4 separate regions of the Homo sapiens genome follow, and all the other regions are linked to region 4. The links are contacts of gene promoters, found by promoter capture Hi-C in blood cells and fetal thymus (Javierre and others, 2016). All regions are on one chromosome and are shown on one strand. The core of a region is centred on a gene start or on the middle of the fragment in contact, and the rest is flanking DNA. Distances in the headings are between cores, read along the strand shown. Region 1 holds the start of LOC124903341 (a long non-coding RNA gene). Region 2 has its middle 33 kb from the start of PCNX1. Region 3 has its middle 16 kb from the start of PCNX1. Region 4 holds the start of TTC9 (tetratricopeptide repeat domain 9).

Region 1 (3,115 bases), core at 49-2,548, 180 kb after region 4:
GATTAACTGAGATAATACGGAGGCAGCCCTAAGAGCAGTGCCTAGAACATAGTGAGCCCTCAATAAAGGCAGAAGGGATCGTACTACCTGGTTGGGACTTTTTAGCCAATTTTACTAATAAGGAAACGGAAGCCCAGGGAGTTTATTCAGTGTGGCTAAGTACTAAGGAACAGTACTAAGGAACAGAAGCCCAAGACCCAATCAGGGGTTCCTGCTTCTGACTCCAAAGCTTTTCCCACTCAGAATCCACTTCCTTAGGGAGTGTGGGTTTTATGTTAAAACAAGCCAAACTTTCGCACCGGCTCTTCTGGTGTCTCCTAGCTTTGCTTCTGAGAAAGGACAGCTGAGGTTGGAGGGAATAACAGCAAAAATAATTGACATTCTTGGGTCCATCGGTCGGTGTGCCGGGCCTGTGCCAAGGACTTCACCTGCCCTTCCCATTCAATATTCACCAAAAAACCTATGTGCTAGGTACTTTGAATAACCACTTTATATAAAAAGTGGGGTGCAGAGCCACTAAGCAAGCAGGGGTGGCGTGTGTCGGAGCCAGAATCCATTATCGGCTCTCTGATCAGTTTACCCCCAGGAGGACCTTTCCCCGACCCCCTACCCCGCCGGGAGCAGCCTATCTTCGTGCAAAATGCACCGAGCTACATACAGAGGCTGCCTTCCAGGACTCAGCGCGGAGGGTTAGGCTGCCTCGAACCCCATTCTGGTAACTCCATCCCAGCTGGGACGCCGGGCCCTCTCCGCCCCTTGCGGCCCACCCCTCCCCTTCTGCCCCCCAACACGGGGACCGGGCGGGCTCTCGGTCGGCGCCACCGCGCCCCCGCATCAGGATCCTCGGCGCTGACGTTCTCTCCCCAGGGGGAGGAGGGGCCCAGGAAGGGTTAGGTCCGCAGCCAGTGCGGAGAAAGGGCCCTGGGCTCGGCTCCCACGCTCGGGCAGGCCTCCCGCCGGGGGATCGGAGCTGCGGTCACTCGCGGCTTCGGGGCCGTGGCGTCCCGCGCACAGCTTCCGCGCCTCTGCAAGGCGGTGAGTCGTTTCTTCCCGGCACAGGAGGGACAGTTTCCCCACGTGGACGCGGGGCTGGCAGCGGGAGGGGCAATAGCGCTGGCGGAGCTTAGGGTTTCGCGGGAGCAACCAGCGCGCGCCTCTCTCTCTCCCCTCCCCTCGCTCGCGCTCGCTCTCCCCCGCCCTCTGTCTCTCCCCTCTCTCTCTCTCGCTTTCCCCCCACTCTCTTGCTTTCCCCCTTCTCTCTCTCTTCCCCTCTCCTCTCGCTCGCTCCTCGTCTCCCCTGGCTCTCTCGCTCTCCCCTCTCCCCGTCTCCCCACGCTCTGTCTCGCTCTCCCCCGTCTCTCTCCCTCCCCCTCTCCTCCCGCTCTCTCTCGCTCTCCTCTCTCTTCTCCCCGACCCCCTTGCGTTCTCTCTTTTTCTCTCTTCCCTCGCTCTCCCCTCCCCTGCCCCGTCCCTCTCCTCTCCCCTCTCCCCACATCTCTCTCGTTCGCCCCTCTCTCCCCTCTTCGCCCTCTCTCTCTCCTTCCTTCTTCCCACCCTCTCTTCCTCCGTCTCTCCCTCCCCGCCTCCTTTCCTCCTTCCCTTCACCCCCACTTTCCTTCTTCCCTCCTCCTCTCCTCCTCCCCTCCTCCCCTCCTTCCTTCCTCCCCTCCTCCCTTCCTCCGCCCCCTCCTCTTACAGGGAAGGATGCCCTCGGTTTCGCTGCGCTCTCCCAGGAGCGAACTCCCGCAGCCGCTCAGGCCAGCGCCAGAGACCTTGTCCCTACCAAGGCGGGCCGCGCCCCTTGGTGGGCTGGGCTCAGGGAGCGCGCTTTGCACGCTTCAGATGTCTTTGTGGGAAGCCTGGGAGTAGCTAGGTGTGAATGTGCTGCCCTTAATTTAAGCCACCAGTTGTAAATATGTGTTCTAGTGCATATTAATAACTCTCCCTCGACCCACTCGCCTCCTGCCACTCCAGTTGCTCCAACAGGGACCCCCTCTTCCCTTCCCTCGGGCCAGCAGCTCTTCCTGTACAGGAGAAGCGATCTGGGTAGCTCAGGAGCTGCCTGTAGGTCTGCGTATGGCCTGTTTCTCTTTCTTCCCCTCTGTCCCACACTCTCCGCTCACTCCTGTCTCCCTGCTGTCACTCTGCAGCTATGACACTAGATCACTAATAAGGGTAGGTGAGAAGGAAAGGGAAGAGGAAAAGAAAATAACAGCCATTTATTCTGATAAACCCTCAACATGTGACACCTGGGTTCCTTCCAGGCATTTGCTGTGAAAATAGGTGGTCCTGGTTCTCAGTAGTCCCAAAGCCTCTAGTCCGGATGGGGGTAGAATTGCCGCAGATGCGGAATCCACTAACAGTCGAGGAAGCTTATCTTCCTGGAAGCCTTCAGCCTCCCACTCCCACCTCTGCCCCATTCTGTTTGCTTCCTCCCTGTCTCAGCTTCTGCTTCTCTCCTTTTTATAACCTGCTGCTAAGAAAAGTCTGAAAACTTGAATTATAAATACATAATATATCAAGTATTGCCTGAAATAGAGATTTGAAACCTAAAAGGGAGGAAAGAAAAGAAGCATCTTGAATTCTAGGAGAAGCAGTCCTGGGTGCCGCGTCCCCAAGGACTGGCTGCAGCTTCTCTCGGCCGCGGTTGCCTCATTTATAACATGGGGATACCCATCCATACCAACCATGGTGCAGGGGATTGCACCAGATCATTCTCACATCTCTTCCAGCTCTGAAGAAATGGAGGTGAACAGAGGAACAGCCACTCCCAGCAAGCAAGGGAAGAAGAATCTTGAAAGCCTGTGACTTCACAGAGACTTCTTGATTGATGCCCCTGAAATCAGCCTGCCAAGTGTGGCCTCTGCAGCATAAATACAAGGAGTCTGATGACACAAGACGGCGTCTGATGATAGTTCTGTCACCCTCAGCCATATTATAATTCCATGTCCTCGTAGTCACCCTGCCATAATCCCACCATTTCCTGCAAACACAGCTTCTCCTGCCTGATGAAGTCTTACCTATCCTTTAAGACCTAGCTCCGACCGGGTGCAGTGGCTCATGCCTGTAATCCCTGCACTTTGGGAGGCCGAGGCAAGTGAATCACTTGAGCCCA
Region 2 (3,194 bases), core at 100-2,599, 230 kb after region 4:
TATATGTAACTAAAAACAAAAGAAATAATTCTGTATAGTACATACATGCAATACATATATATGTACAATACAGAATATATGTACTATAGAATATATGTATAGTACATATATTCAGTATAGTTCATACTACACTACATACATGCTATATTATATGTATAGTATATTTCTGTCCATATATATACTATAAATGTACTATATATTCTGTATAGCACATACATATAGTACCCATATGTACTATATGTATATATTATGTATGTTATATATAATATGTATTGTATATAGGCATATGCTATGGGAAGGGGGGCAGGGAAGTGCTGGGTAGAGAAGGGGGGGGTCCCTGATGAGGGCTCCATCCTCGAGCCTGTGCCCACGGACCTAAATGAGGACAGATGTTTCTGTTTTCACACCCAAAATGTTGCCTTTTGGGCCACCACACCCCCCACATCCTGTGCCCATAAAAACCTGAGACCCCAGCGGGCACACACACAAGCAGCTGGACATTGAGAGAAGCAGAAGACAGACACCAGCAGACACCAGCAGGCCATTGAAGGCAGAACGACATGACACCAAGAGGAATTCGGCCAGGGTGGTTGGAGGAAAGTCTAGCTGCTGGATGGCCCAAGTCCAGGGAAGACCACTTTCCCACTCCATCCTTTTTCTTGCTCCCCATCCATCTCACTGAGAGCTACTTCCACCACTCAATAAAACCTTGCACTCATTCTCCAAGTCCACATGTGATCCGATTTTTCCAGTACACTAGAGCAAGAACCCAGGCTACAGAAACCCTTTGTCCTTGTGATAGGGCAAAGGGTCTAATTGAGCTGATTAACACAAGCCACCAGCAGATGGCAAAGCTGAAAGAATATACTGTAACACACTCCCGCTGGGGCTTCGGGAGCTGCAAACCCTCAACCCTAGACTCTGCTGTGGGTCAGAGCCCAAAAATGCTCTCCATGACCCACCCGTCTGCATGCTCCCCTAGGGTTTGAGAAGTAGGGCCCTGAAGAGGCAAGCCACACCCCTGTCACATACCCTGTGAAGGTGATAAGGGAACTCCACCCATTTCACATATAGTAAACATATATGTACCATATTTTAATTATATACATTAATCATAATTTTAACTCTTAGTAACATTAATTTCCAGTGAACAATCAAGGAAGTAATCCATTTTAAACTGTTTTATATCAGTATTTGTAGATGAAAGCCATTTCCTAATTTTTAGAAAGAAATGTTTCCTCAATTTTTTATGTTTCTTCTTATTTATTTATCCATTTATTTATTTTGAGATAGAGTCTTGCTCTGTCATCCAGGCTGGAGTGCGGTGGCATGATCTCAGCTCACTGCAACTTCTGCCTCCTGGGTTCAAGCAATTCTCCTGTCTCCGCCTCCCAAGTAGCTGGAATTGCAGGCGCACACCACCATGCCCGCCTAATTTTTGTATTTTTAGTAGAGATGGCGTTTCGCCATGTTGGCCAGGTTGGTCTCAAACTCCTGACCTCAGGTGATCTGCCCGCCTTGGCCTCCCAAAGTGCTGGGATTACAGGCATGAGCCACCACGCCCAGCCAGATTTTTATGTTTCTTAATAGATCCAAATATATTTAACTTCTATATACTGTATTAAAAACAAGATGTTGAAGTATATAAACTAAAGCTATGCTTAATAATTAATGTTTCAGTATTTTATTGAATTTAAAATGAATTGAAAATAAAGTAATTTTCAATTACTTAATTTAACATGATTTTAAAATTTGAAGTTGCTGAAAAAGATTTTGGAAACTATGATAAATTTATTTATAAATTTTGATGCCATTTACATTCACCTTATTTACTCATTCTTTACAATTATGCTTGAATTACTTATTAAACAAAACTAGCCATTGAAGAAGTATAACTGCTCAACAGGTTCACATTGCCAGCTGCCTAGACAGAGCTAATTTATCAAGACAGGGGAATTAGAATGGAGAAAGAGTAATTCATGTAGAGCCGGCTGTGCGGGAGATGGAGTTTTATTATTACTCAAATCAGTCTCCTCGAGCATTTGGGAATCAGAGTTTTTAAAAATAATTTGGCGGGTAGGGGCTCGGGAAGTAGGGAGTGCTGATTGGTCAGGTTGGAGATGGAATCATAGAGGAGTCAAGTGAGTTTTCTTGCTTGTTGTCTTCTGTTCCTGGATGGGATCATAGAATTGGTGGAACCAGATTACCAGTCTGGGTGGAGTCAGTTGATCCATGGAGTGCAGGGTCTGCAAAATATCTCAAGCATTGATCTTAGGTTTTCCAATAGTTATATTTTCCCCAGGAGCAATTTTGGGAGGTTAAGAATCTTGCAGCTGGAGGCTGTGTGGTCACTAAACCACAATTTCTAATCTTGTAGCTAATTTGTTAGTCCTATAAAGGCAGACCGGTCCCCAGACAAGAAGGGTTTTTTTTTTTTTTTTTTTGGAAAAGGGCTATTATCAATTTTGTTTCAGAGTTAAACTATAAACTAAATTCCTTCTGAAGGTTAGTTCAGCCTACGCCCAGGAATGAACAAGGACAACTTAAAGGTTGAAAGCAAGATGGAGTCAGTTAGGTCTGATCTCTTTCACTGTCATAATTTCCTCAGGTATGATTTTGGCAAAGGCGGTTTCAGAAGTTCGGAAGATATGACCCCAAAATATGTTGCTTTTGTATACTATTGCTGCTAACAGGTACTCAGAGCAAGGCTTTAAAAATTCTCCTTGTTTGTCTAAAGACAGATTTTCCAAAGGAATCCAAATGCCATCAATCCTGTTGTTACAGGAAAGGGGTCCTGATCCAGACCCCAAAAGAGGGTTCTTGGATCTCGTGCAAGAAAGAATTCAGGGCAAGTCAATAAGGTGAAAGCAAGTTTATTAGGGAAACAAAGGAACAAAAGAATGGCTATTCCATAGAAATGCATGGTTTTATGGTTATTTCTTGTTTATATGCTAAACAAGGGGTGGATTATTCATGCCTCCCCTTTTTAGACCATATAGGGTAACTTCCTGATGTTGCCATGGCATTTTTAAACCGTCATGGCGCTGGTGGGAGTGTAGCAGTGAGGACAACCAGACGTCACTCTCATCACCATCTCGATTTTGGTGGGTTTTGGCCGGCTTCTTTACTGTAACCTGTTTTATCAGCAAGATCTTTATGAGTTGTACCTTGTGCCGACCTCCTATCTCATCCTG
Region 3 (3,277 bases), core at 328-2,827, 250 kb after region 4:
AATGAGATATCAACAAGAGTCACTGAAAAGGGACCTACGGACAGGCTGTTAGGGACTTGATCTTCAGGAATAAGACTGGCTACTAGAATCAAAGAAAAGGTTTGTGTAGGTCCAGTAGCAAGGCTGATTTGATGCTATCATGCTGAGAAACTCATACTCTGCTTTTCATTTTTGCGTTTTTAGTACCTCTAAAGCTTTTTACATTCTCCCCAACTATAGAGATACTCTAGGGCCTAAGTTGATCCTAGCCGGGCTAATCACCAAATCACAGAATTTGGCAGATGATTTCAAGAAGTTTAAAATGAGTCCCGTCCTCAAAGTGTTTATAATCTATTTGAGAAGAAAAGGTCAGCACACATGAGACAGAAATATGTCTACTGTGTCCATTTACTGTGTTATGTACAAGTCATAGGTATTAAGAAAAATAAAAATTAGTAAGTGCTGGAGAGGTCAAGGAAGGCTTCACCGAAGAGGGATGATTTGAGGGTTTAAATTTTTTCTGAGACAGGGTTTCACTCCATCGCCCAAGCTGTAATGCAGTGGTGTAATCACGGTTCACTGCAGCCTTGACCTCTCAAGATCAGTTGATCCTCCCGCCTCAGCCTCCTGGGTAGCCCCAGCTGGGATTGCAGATGCACACCACCATGCCCAGTTCATTTTTTATATTTTTTGTAGAGACAGGGTTTTGCCATGTTGCCCAGGCTGGTCTCGAACTCCTGAGCCCAAGGGATCTGCCCACCTGAACCTCTCAAAATGTTGGGATTACAGGCATTAGCCGCTGCACCTGGCCTGGCTTGAAGTTTTTTAAGTGAAGAAAAGCAGAATTGGGGCCCTGGGGGTGGGAGATGTTCATGGGGGTGGAGAGAAGAGAGTCAGAAATATCCTGAGATATTTTTCTCATCATTTTTACCCCAACAGGAATAGTTGAGCCTCTCAGTTCTGCAGGGGAAGCTGGTAGTGGAGCCACTAGTGAGCACTTATAAAGTAGATGATAAAGAAAGGAAGTGGAGTTTGCTTGATAAGAGAAGAACATGATTAGAATGGTTGTGTTGGTAGCTCCTGGACTCTTTCTCTGCGGCTATTTCAGTCCCCTAGCTAATCTGGCCCTGACTTATAGTAGTGCCAACTTCAAGCCTTCAGGGCATTTTATACAGCTTCCTGTCTATGCTTCCCACCCTTATCACTCCCTCCCCTTGTTTTCCTTCCATTTTTTTAAATGACTATTATTGAATCAAATTTTCCTATTAATTAAAACCCTTGGGATCTTGGAACCTTAGTCAACTTTCCCCTCGTATATGACATAATGATGTACATTGTGTTTCAATGGCTCTGGACACCATCGCTGATAGAATAGGTCACCTGTTTAGCGTAGTCAGGATGAATGTTGCCATCAAGATGACTGCTCTATATTGAAGAGTCTGAGTCAACTCAGCATATCCAACTATCTTCGTGACTTTTTTTTTTAAAAGAGTTTTAATGTATTCCTTTAGTACTGGCAGTTGCTTTTCCCAGTCTGCTGCTGCTGAAGAAATTCCTAATGGTTAATGTCAGATCCCAGGATACTGGCCTATAATGCTGAGAAAGGAAATAGTGTCAGAGAATCTTGGTTTTTAGCTGCTGTTTTACTCTGCAGGAGCAGAGAGAAATAGGAGCAGGGGTAATTTCTTTCCTTTAGCAGCTGCTGAAGTAGACCTGATATTTGGGTTGGAAAAGTATATCAACTCACCTCAATTTAGAGAAATTATTTTTTAACCTTAAGAAATTAACGTATGTATTGCATCACTGAGGAGGCTCTTCTGTGGGCTTGTAGCAGGAAAAATCTAGACACTCTATGGGGCTATGCTACAGACATGGTGGCCCATGCAAGGAACTGGCAGCTGTGGGAGACAATGACAATGATTGACACTTGCCTGGCAATTTACAGCATACTGTTTCAAACCTGATTTAATTCTCTCAGTAAGCCTGAGATAAAGGGGTCATTTTATGCATTCCACAGATGAGGAAATAGACTTGCTTTCTTAAGCAACAGGTAGTGAGTTACAATCCAGAAATGAACACAGTCTCTCTGAATCCCAATCCTACACCCTTCCCAGTAAACAGGTTCTATTCCACTGTATGGCATTCAGTTGTGAGACGTTTCACACAAGAATTCGTCATTAACAAAAGAATTATATTTGATGGTGATAATTTAGAATCATAAGTCAAGAGTCTCTCATTTTCTTGTATTGAAGTGCATTTTTTTTTTTTTTTGAGATGGAGTCTTGCTCTGTTGCCCAGGCTGGAGTGCAGTGGCACGATCTCGGCTCACTGCAACCTCCACCTCCCAGGTTCAAGTGATACTTTTGCCTCAGCTCCCCCTCAGAACTGGTAGCTGGGATTACAGGCATGCACCACCAAGCCTGGCTGATTTTTGTATGTTCAGTAGAGATGGGGATTTGCCATGTTGGCCAGGCTGGTCTTGAACTCCTGATCTCAGGGGATCCACCTGCCTCGGCCTCCGAAAGTGCTTAGATTACAGGTGAGAGCCACCGCGCCTGGCCTGAAGTGCATTTTTTGAGCAGAAAGAATAGGTCAAATTGCAGCAAGCTATCTGGGGAATCACACACATCAGTTATATCTGTGCAGTAGCACTAAAAGACCATGGCTGGTGGAGATAATAATAGTTTTTGTGATTATAAGTTATTGCCTTGCTTTCCTCCCTGGAAAATACTGGGTTTCACCAAAGTTTGAATCTGAGTTTTCCTATGACAGTGTGCCTGCTTGTGTGAATATCATCCATTTTGAGTATCTCCAAAAGACATCAGTGGAGAATGTGGCTCATCGTGCAGCCTTCCTGATAGATCTGACTATGGTAGTGCACATACTACATTTAAGCCCTGCTGTGTATCAAAGCTGGGTACTCAACCCTAACACATACCCTTCACTTATAATGAAACTTCTAATGGACTCTTGCTTATAGGGAAAGCTTGTATAACCAACTCTCAATTTTTATGTGTATGTAAGGTCAAAACTGCAGTGTTCTGTTAATGGTGATACCACTACAATGTCTGTAGATATAGGCAATAGAAAACTGAAGCACTCTTATGACACAAATACAGTGTAAACATTCTTGAAAAACTGGGAATTTGCTGCAGCATCACTCCTAGCCACTCCCCAGAAATTTGGAGGTTGGACAACCTAGTGTGATAGTAGAAACACTTGAAATGTTTGGGAGTCATTTTTACACAAACTTGTGCTGTTGCTTTTTTTTAAGGTTAAAAAAGGCATGTTTTGATGC
Region 4 (3,375 bases), core at 795-3,294:
AGACCCTGTCTCTACAAAAAAAATAATTAACCAGGGGTAGTGGTGTGCACCTATAGTTGCAACTTCTCAGGAGGCTAAAGTAAGAGGTGAGAGGATCCCTTGAGCCCAGGAGTTTGAGGCTGCAGTGAGCAATTATCATGCCACTGCACTGCAGCCTGGGTGACAGAGAAAGACCCTGACTCAAAAATAAAAAAGAAAAGAAAACAACAACAACAACAACAAACAGTAAATGAATTGTGTATATTGTTCCATACCACTTATGTTGGCTAAAAGAGCACTTTTTACAAATATAGATGCCTAGGAAACAACTGGTAGGAATTACATCAAAATATTAACAAAGAATACAACTGGGTGTAGACTGGGGGGTTCTTTATACTTTACTGTATTTTCCAAAGTCTCTACAGCAGTGTTTCTCACACTTTAATAGGTAAACAAATCACCCAGTATGCTCGTTAAAATGCAGCTTCTGGGTTAGTAGGTGTGGGATTTTCAGATTCTGCATTTCTGATAGGTTCTCCTGTGATGCTGATGATATTGGCCCAAGGTCTACATTTTGAGTAGGAAGGTTTTAAAGCAGCATATCTGAACCAATATACTGGTTAACTGAGACCCACCCTCAGAGTTTCTGATTTCTTAAGTCTGGAGTAGGATCCTAGGATTTGCATTTCTAACTGTTTCCCAGGTGATGCTGACACTGCAGGTCTGGGGCCAGCACTCTGACAACCGGTGCTCTAGAATCTTTCTTTTTCTTAACATTAAGGAAGGGAGGGCACTAAAAAATATGTCAGGCTTCTCCATTGACTCCAAAATCAAATCCAAACTCTTCATCCAAAAGCCCCCATAATCCAACCCCGTCATTTCCCACTACTTCTCATTAGGCTATAAAATCAAACCACTATGCCCTAAACACACCTGAGATTTCAAACATCAGGACTTCCGCTGGATTTCCTCACTCCGGCTATGCCACTTCCTTCTACTTCTTCATGCCAAATCCTACCCAGCCTTCAAGGTCCTCAAATGCTATTTCCTCCATAAAGCCTCCTGATCTACCACTACTCAAAAAGCTACCTCTCCCTCCCCCCCTCAGGGCTGCACAGCACTTTTCGTTCCTCCCCAATGACAGGCACCATCTGTACCTGGTCCAGCGACTCTACCGGTGGGTGGTGTATCTTCGCCTGTAGACTGGGAGTTTCTTGAGGTCAGGGGAGTGACTTGCCTATCTTTGCCTCTTAGCCTTAGCAGATCCCCAGTAGACAGCTGACACTCAGAACCGACCAAAAGAAGGAAGGAATGGGACCTCCTGAGGAAGGGCACAGAACTGTCCTGTAAATGGAAACTAGACCGGACGCACGCCAAGCCGATGACCCACAGTAACAGGTGTTCTCCATCTCTGATGTCTGTGATTCATCCTGCACAGCTGCGCGCACACAGCACACGCATACACAGGCTCCCAGAATACGGCGCCCCACACGCTGTACCGCCCGTCGCGTTCTGGACGCCCCGGCGACCACACACACCGAGACACACCTCAGCGACAACCTGGATCCACAAAAAGGAGGCCCTGCCCCCTTAAAAAATACTAACACCTTACTGCAAAGAACTAGCAGCTACGGCTTGCGCCTGCGCCCCTTGTTCCCTGCCGCACCTTTTCTTGTAGTTAAGAAATCTATTTCTGCACGCATTTCGTCGCCGCCGCCCCCCATCCCTACACGCACGCACACACACACACACACACGCACACACACACACTCCCCTTCCCCTACACCTACCCCCCTCCCCCCACCTCCTTTCAGACTAGGCGCGCCTCGCAGAGCGGGATTGAATGGGAAAGAGCGGGGCCGTCTTTGTCATTAATCCTCCCCTCCTTCGGGCAAGCCAAGCTTCTTCCGGGTCAGCGACCATCCCCGCCACCCCACTCGGGGCCACGGTCCCCCCGCAGCGCTAGTCCCGGGCCCGCGAGCACCGGCCCCCGCCACCCGCAGGTTGCGGAGGGAGGAGGGCGGGAGCGGGCGGCGCGGAGCCGGGAGGCGGGGGAGGGGCCGGCGTCCGAGGCGGCGGCGGCGGCGGCTGGAGCAGCCTCTGGCAGCAGCGGGGAGAATGGGAGTGCGGGGCGCCAGACCGCCGCGGGGTGTCACGGCCGCCACGAAGCCTGCGAGGCGCGGGGCCGGCGCCCGCGGCTTTTAAACCCGGGAAGGCGCGGCGGCGGCGGCGGCGGCGGGCAGATCGCGGCGCGCACCAGGCGCCGGGGCGGCGGCCGAATGGAGAGAAAGGGCTCGGCGGCCGGGGCCAAGGGGAACCCGAGCCCGCCCGCGGCCGGAGAGGGGCAGCGGCCACCGCCGCCGCTGTGCGTCCCGGGCGGCGGCGGAGGAGCCCCAGCGAGGGGCCAGGTCGGGGCGGCGGCCGAGCCGGCCGAGCTCATCCGACGAGCGCACGAGTTCAAAAGCCAAGGGGCGCAGTGCTACAAGGACAAGAAATTCCGTGAAGCCATAGGCAAATACCACCGGGCGTTGCTGGAGCTGAAGGGGCTGCTGCCGCCCCCCGGGGAACGGGAGCGGGACTCGCGCCCGGCCTCCCCGGCTGGGGCCCTGAAGCCCGGCCGCCTCTCGGAGGAGCAGAGCAAGACGGTGGAAGCCATCGAGATCGACTGTTACAACAGCCTGGCAGGTGAGCCGCGCCGCGCCCCCCGCGCCGCGGTCCCCGTTCTTCGGCCCGGTCCCTCCGCGGACCACTGCGGCGCTCCCGCGGTGCAGATTCTCCTGCTGTGACTGTGTTGCTCTGGGGAGAACCCGGGAGGGAGGCGCTTTGGAAAAAGTGTGACTTTCAGGATTATGCCTTTCAAAGGCCATAATCATCTCTTGTCCCTTCGCTAGCATACATCGTAAATCTCACCTAGAAATGACTGGAAGGGGACCCAGCTGGCCTGGCTATGGCTGCTGCTGCTACTGCTCACCAGTGGACCTGGGTCCAAAATGCGGAAGCAGCGCCCGGGGTGGGCCCCCGCAGCCACCGCTAGCCCAGCTTTTTCCTGCGGGTGGGTCCCAAGGGAGGCCACGCACCTGTCTGCTCTCCTTAGGTAGCATGAGCACCAGGATTGGTCCTCGCCTTTTCCCCAACTAACCGCATCCCTGTAGGTAAGATCTTCCCCAAGTTTTTTGGCCCCAGTAGCAAAGGGGAGTTTGACACCATGCCTTCAGCATCTTGAGCAAAATGGATTCCAGAATGCCACTTTCTTCTCTCTGAGCTCTGCTGGGGCTCCCGGTTGCCAGGTGAAGATCTCTATCTCAAAAGAAGCTTGGTTCATGGTTGGGCTTGAACTATGCTGCATTCTCCCTCTCCTCCCTGCCCGTTTCTCACTATGTGTAGCATCAGTCCTCA

The links. Contacts are between HindIII fragments. The CHiCAGO score rates a contact against its expected background, and 5 or more counts as called.
Region 1: a fragment that was not itself captured here is called in contact with the fragment with the promoter of TTC9 in region 4 in 7 of 17 cell types (total B cells, naive CD4 T cells, activated CD4 T cells and 4 more); the score reaches 7.7 in total B cells.
Region 2: a contact is called between a fragment that was not itself captured here and the fragment with the promoter of TTC9 in region 4, in 1 of 17 cell types (total CD4 T cells). The highest score is 5.1, in total CD4 T cells.
Region 3: a fragment that was not itself captured here is called in contact with the fragment with the promoter of TTC9 in region 4 in 1 of 17 cell types (non-activated CD4 T cells); the score reaches 5.2 in non-activated CD4 T cells.

What each region holds. Positions count from the first base shown.
Region 1 is chr14:70,821,088-70,824,202 of GRCh38, forward strand. It overlaps LOC124903341 (a long non-coding RNA gene), which reads left to right and starts at 786. Exons shown (of 2, transcript XR_007064246.1): 1 at 786-1,035; 2 at 2,733-2,897. RefSeq lists a silencer at 706-905. The HindIII fragment of the contact is 2,143 bases long and covers 228-2,370 here.
Region 2 is chr14:70,872,925-70,876,118 of GRCh38, forward strand. No RefSeq gene overlaps it. Among named protein-coding and RNA genes, the nearest start is that of PCNX1, 33 kb to the right of the region's middle. The HindIII fragment of the contact is 8,273 bases long and covers 1-3,194 here.
Region 3 is chr14:70,889,931-70,893,207 of GRCh38, forward strand. No RefSeq gene overlaps it. Among named protein-coding and RNA genes, the nearest start is that of PCNX1, 16 kb to the right of the region's middle. The HindIII fragment of the contact is 2,771 bases long and covers 193-2,963 here.
Region 4 is chr14:70,639,872-70,643,246 of GRCh38, forward strand. TTC9 (tetratricopeptide repeat domain 9) reads left to right here and starts at 2,045. Exons shown (of 3, transcript NM_015351.2): 1 at 2,045-2,664. The coding sequence starts at 2,259. It overlaps TTC9-DT (TTC9 divergent transcript), which reads right to left and starts at 1,427. Exons shown (of 3, transcript NR_110071.1): 1 at 1,137-1,427. RefSeq lists enhancers at 940-1,119, 1,220-1,479 and silencers at 1,950-2,099, 2,320-2,509, 2,530-2,599. The HindIII fragment of the contact is 1,411 bases long and covers 1,879-3,289 here.